Regions from separate parts of the Homo sapiens genome. Here region 1 is linked to region 2. Evidence: promoter capture Hi-C in 16 types of primary human blood cells and fetal thymus (Javierre and others, 2016). All regions are on one chromosome and are shown on one strand. The core of a region is centred on a gene start or on the middle of the fragment in contact, and the rest is flanking DNA. Distances in the headings are between cores, read along the strand shown. Region 1 overlaps DEPDC5 (DEP domain containing 5, GATOR1 subcomplex subunit). Region 2 holds the start of YWHAH (tyrosine 3-monooxygenase/tryptophan 5-monooxygenase activation protein eta).

Evidence for each region. The method cuts DNA at HindIII sites, captures the fragments that hold promoters and counts their contacts. A CHiCAGO score of 5 or more calls a contact.
Region 1: a contact is called between a fragment that was not itself captured here and the fragment with the promoter of YWHAH in region 2, in 4 of 17 cell types (erythroblasts, megakaryocytes, endothelial precursors and 1 more). The highest score is 9.3, in erythroblasts.

What each region holds. Positions count from the first base shown.
Region 1 is chr22:31,889,103-31,891,866 of GRCh38, forward strand. All of the region lies in intron 38 of DEPDC5 (DEP domain containing 5, GATOR1 subcomplex subunit), which reads left to right. It also overlaps the pseudogene LOC124905101. Among named protein-coding and RNA genes, the nearest start is that of YWHAH, 54 kb to the right of the region's middle. RefSeq lists an enhancer at 2,164-2,698. The HindIII fragment of the contact is 3,008 bases long and covers 1-2,764 here.
Region 2 is chr22:31,943,134-31,945,833 of GRCh38, forward strand. It overlaps YWHAH (tyrosine 3-monooxygenase/tryptophan 5-monooxygenase activation protein eta), which reads left to right and starts at 1,402. Exons shown (of 2, transcript NM_003405.4): 1 at 1,402-1,687. The coding sequence starts at 1,601. YWHAH-AS1 (YWHAH antisense RNA 1) reads right to left here and starts at 2,233. Exons shown (of 3, transcript NR_171018.1): 1 at 2,100-2,233. LOC124900477 (a long non-coding RNA gene) reads left to right here and starts at 1,701. Exons shown (of 3, transcript XR_007068065.1): 1 at 1,701-2,102; 2 at 2,367-2,545. RefSeq lists enhancers at 1-721, 722-1,579, 2,323-2,372 and silencers at 843-992, 1,273-1,362, 1,373-1,592, 1,663-2,002. The HindIII fragment of the contact is 4,478 bases long and covers 1-2,700 here.

The sequences.
Region 1 (2,764 bases), core at 113-2,612, 54 kb before region 2:
CCCCAGGTTACTGATAACCCCCTAGCTATGACCTGGGTGAAGGATGCTCAGCCTATTCCTCCTCTGGGCTTGCATGTATTTATTGGTCTTGTGTGAATAAGTTGGTTCTCATGGAACTCACGTAATGATTCTATGAACTTACTGAAAGCTGAACTCAGCTGGTCTCATATCTTTATCAACATCATAATCCGCTAGAAACATATGTACTGCCAAATCTATCCCCAAAGTACAGGGCCAGTAGTATCTTCAGCCTGTAACCACTTGGTTGAACAGCGTACTTCCTGGCCCAGGCCAGCATGTTCTGAACTTAACATGCCAGATGGGAGAGAAGAGATGCATGAGGCCACTGCTGGTATTTATTGAATATCCTCGTCTTTGTGACACAGACTTTTCACTTGGGAAGAAACACACAGTGTCCAAGACCAGAGGGCAAAACTTCTTTTTTTTTTTTTTTTTTTTTTTTTCCAGACAGAGTCTCGCTCTGTTGCCTATGCTGGAGTGCAGAGGCGCTCACTGCAAGCTCCGCCTCCCAGGTTCACGCCATTCTCCTGCCTCAGCCTCCCAAGTAGCTGGGACTACAGGCACCCGCCACCATGCCCGGCTAATTTTTGTATTTTTAGTAGAGACGGGTTTCACCTTGTTAGCCAGGATGGTCTCGATCTCCTGACCTCGTGATCCACCCGCCTCGGCCTCCCAAAGTGTTGGGATTACAGGTGTGAGCCACTGTTTTGATTTTGGCTAAGTAAAGGGTTATTCTGGCAGTATCAGGAATCCATAACATGAAGCAGAGACAGAATGTAGTTTTGATGAGCCTTTTAGCATTGGAGTGACCAAGTTCTTTAGCCTTAAATGTCACAGACAGCCAACCAGTGTCCATGGGCGGCACAGACAGGCCTCAGATTGAACATTGGCAAACTAATGGCCTAAATTGGGAGAAGAGACCAGCAGGAACAGAAGGAAAAGAGGAGAGTTACAAGTTAGGTGGCTGGGTAAGGCAAGAGAGGAGGTCCACACTCCTTTCTCATCCATGCTTCACCTGATTCTCATCCTGTCTCTATGAACCATCTGGGCTGGCACATCTCAGTTTGTAGTTCAGGAACTAAATCAGGAGAGGTGAAACAATGCTCTCTGAGACATATGGTTACTAAATGGCAGAGCTTAGATCTTCCAACTTCAAATCAATAAGTTTTCCCATTTGCATGTTCTAGGTTTTTGTTTGTTTTTCCATTCATGAGATATTTATTAAAATAACACATTTGGGGGAAAAAATCAATACAACATAGACATCACTACTGAAAACCATATATCATCATACAAAAAGGGATTTTGGCCAGGCATGGTGGCTCATTATTATCCCAGCACCTTCGGGGGCCGAGGTGGGCAGGTCAATTAAGGCTAGGAGTTCGAGATAAGCCTGGCCAACATAGGGAAACCCCAACTCTATTAAAATACAAAAATTAGCTGGGCGTGGTGATGTGCACCTGTAGGCCCAGCTACCTGGGAGGCTGAGACACAAGAATCTCCTGAACCTGGGAGGCCCAGGTTGCAGTGAGCCGAGATCACGCCACTGCACTCCAGCCTGGGCAACAAAGTGAGATTCTGTCTCAAAAAAAAGATTTTTAAAATTTTTATTTTATTTTGAGATGGAGTTTCACTCTTGTTGCCCAGGCTAGAGTGCAATGGTGCGATCTCGGCTCACTGCAACCTTTGCCTCCCAGGTTCAAGCAATTCTCCTGCCTCAGCCTCCCGAGTAGCTGGGATTACAGGCATGCATCACCACGCCCGGCTAATTTTTTGTATTTTTATTAGAGACGGGGTTTCTCCATGTTGGTCTTGAACTCCTGACCTCAGGTGATCCGCCTGCCTTGGCCTCCCAAAGTGCTGGGATTACAGGCGTGAGCCACCATGCCCGGCTAAAAAATGAATTTTATTTTGGGAATGGTTTTCTAATTTATGGCAGATATTACTTTCAAAAATAATACCACAGAACAACACAATCTAGGTCAATCTTAAAGACTGACAGGCTGAGCAAGGAATGTTTTTATTTTTTTGTAGGAGCTCCTTCTTTAAACTGTCAAGTACTAGGGCTCTGCCTTTTGGAGTGATTTCAGCCACCAAGTCATCGACAATAACGTGTTCTAGTCCTTTCTCTTTAATTACCTCTTAATGCAAAAGCAAAAAACATATCACTTAAAATCATTATCTTTACATTATCTTTATCAACTCATCCTTTCAGCCACATTCAATTAATTTAGCTCAGCAGCTCTTTCAGGCGTTCTCTTACTCCGGTTTCTGTCAACTTTTGGTTAATCTCTGCTCTCATATTCATCTTGCTAACCACACTTCCTGGACTTAGTCTTTTGAGAGAATGGTGAGTGGTACATCTGGCAGCTGAATGCCAGTTTGCCTGAATGCCATTAGTGACCTAGCTGGAGCTCTCCTGCCTTACAACAGAAGCTCATTAAAATTGCTGACGCAAGAGCTGTTTATCTTTGTCAGTGAGAAAAACCCACTCAGGGCTTCTATCTGCAGAACCCAGAACTAAACTGACCACTTCAGCTGAAGAAAACTGTTGAATTCATGGGGGTAAGGGAGAATGAGGGGTGGATTATAGTTTATAGAAACCCTAGGTCTGGGGGTACATGTTCTCAGGATCTCTTAAGACTGTGCCTCAGGGAGGCAAAAAACAAACAGAAACCCTAGGTCTGGCAGTGCCCAGCCAGGCAGAACAGAAGCCTGACCTTTTCTTTGCTTCTGAGCGTAT
Region 2 (2,700 bases), core at 152-2,651:
CCTTCTCCCTTCGAACATGTCTTACTCTCTAGAGCAAGATTCCAGGCCTGAAATATGGCTTCCCAATTACCTAAGGATGAAGCCTCAAATCTTTGGCCTGGCATTTAAAAGACTCCGTAATCTTGTTTTACCCAACCTCACTTCCCATTCTTAGGCCTCTCTTCTCACCATCTCCCAGGTCACTGCCAAGCCTTTGCCAATGCTGTACCCCAGGCCTTAATCTTTTTCCTGACTCTCCTTCAAGATCCAGCTTATCCCTGTGGGCTGAGCATGCAGTAGATGCTCAATAAAATTCTCAGCGAGCCCAAGGCCCCCTCTCCTGCACTGCCCTTGGCGTGTTGAAATCAAGTGGGGGCCTTGTTTTAATCATCATTTTCCTAGCTTGTCGGGCAGCCCAGTCCAGGGCCTGGCACAAGGGACCCTCAGCATCCAATACCAGCCAGGATTGGGAGGGGCTCAGTGACCAGCCAGTTGGGCCACCCCAGCTCTTTGCCACAAGAGAAAGTTCAGCCTGGGTTTGGACTCAGATCCTGGCCCCACCACTTACAGGCTGCGTAACCCTGAGCAAGTCACTAACCTCGCTTTTCCTCAGGTTCCACGTTTTAAATATGGGGAGACCAGCTGTGCCCACTGTGGGCTGGGTAGTGAGGATTAAAGAGGAGGATGCTTGTACGGGACTAGCACTGGGCTGGCTCCTAATGTGTCCTGAATATTACTTGTCCCGCCCTGGCCACCCAGTCCCCTCCTCTGGTGGAAGGCACAGCCTGCCCAAGGCTACGTCTCAGGTTGGGTTCGATTGTGTGTGTCTGTGTAGCGGGGCTGTCCCCGAGGGTCGGACTCGATCCTGCCCGGACCAGTACAAGGTGTGGCCCAGCAGAACGCATGGACAGGCAGGGCTCGGGGCGGGCGGGACGGCTGGGGCGGGGCTGGGCGGACCCGCCCCTCGGGGCACGCGGTCTCCCGGCTTCTCCGCCAGTATGTTTGCTTGCTTTTGGGGCCCTTCTCAAGCCAGATCTCTAACGTGGATGGAGTGGCGCGTTTCAGGGTGGGGCTATGACAATGCACTGCCTGTGCAGCCGCCATCACCGCGCCCCCTCCACCGGCTCCGCAGTCTCCTGCCCGGCTTTCCCTTCTCCACCTCCATCTCTGCGGCGGTAAAATGCAGCACTCGCAGAGCGCCTGCGCGGCTTTCAGGCCGGGCGGCGGCGGCGGCGGTGGCTATTTATAGTAGGTGACGTCACCTTGAAATAGACCGTTAGGGCCGGCCCGCCCTTCCCCCCTCCCACTCCCGCCGCTCCCCGCCGCCCGGCCTGGCCACTCTCACTGCGCAGGCGTCGTCCCGTCCTCCCATCCCCCAGCGCGGCCGCGTCTCCTCCCTCGGCGTTGTCCGCGGCGCGAGCCACAGCGCGCGGGGCGAGCCAGCGAGAGGGCGCGAGCGGCGGCGCTGCCTGCAGCCTGCAGCCTGCAGCCTCCGGCCGGCCGGCGAGCCAGTGCGCGTGCGCGGCGGCGGCCTCCGCAGCGACCGGGGAGCGGACTGACCGGCGGGAGGGCTAGCGAGCCAGCGGTGTGAGGCGCGAGGCGAGGCCGAGCCGCGAGCGACATGGGGGACCGGGAGCAGCTGCTGCAGCGGGCGCGGCTGGCCGAGCAGGCGGAGCGCTACGACGACATGGCCTCCGCTATGAAGGCGGTGAGCGCGCCGGGAGCCCGGGCGGCTGGCCGGGGGGGGCCTGGCGTTGGGGAGGGACGGGGATGGCCGCGGGCGCGTTCCCCTCCCGGCCATGGGCGACCCGGCGACCCGGCTGGGCGTGGCCGCCCGCCCGCCCTTAGCCCGCGCTTCCCGCTCCCGCTGGGCGCCCCGCCACTTCCTGAGGCTGGGCCCAGGGTGGGGGATCCGGGAGGGTGCAGTTCGGGATCGCGAAGGCAGCCCCGGAAGGGGGGCGGGCCGGTCGGGGTCGCCACATCTTAGTTCGGAACCCGGCCGGGGGCAGAGGGTGCCCTAGGGGACGCGAAGGAGCCGCATTTCTCCTAGAGCGTTTCACCGGACCCGGGGGCTCCCCCTCTCGTCTTCCTCCGTTCCCCAACTTGGAATAAAGAATCACCTAGTAAGTGGCGCCCTGTCTCAGCTGGTTTTCTCTGCCACGACCTGAAGTCTGCAATTCCGATCTGTTTTGCTCTGCTCGTTCGAATTGTTCTGGTTCCATCTTCCCACGCCTGGGGGTCTGGCTTTGTGTGCGAAGACCCCTTTCCTGCAGTCTAGGCGTGGACGGGGGCGGGAGAGTGGGCGGAGGGTGTGGGGCCCCACTCCACAGCCCCAGGTTTGCTGCTGCGCTGTCTGCTTGGAGATTAAAATGAAACGTGACTTCTAGGTGAGACGAATCTGTGTGTCTTTGCATTCCTGAGACCCTCATAAATCGATTCTGCAGCTTCTCCGGTGGATGAGTCGTGCCCAGCCACACCCTAGCAAAATACCGTGGGTCACACACCACCTGCATTTCTGAGTTCCGGTTACCATCTCACTCTCTCTCCACGTTATTTTACGTTTTCTGTAAATGAATATTTCCTCTCCCTGCGTCAAGGTCACACAGTGGTAGAACAACTGCGACCACCAACCTATGTTCAGTGTACAACCTCCTGAGACCTGGGAGGATCCCCTTGAACTCCGCCTTAGACCTATACATTCAGAAATTCGGGCGGTGAGAC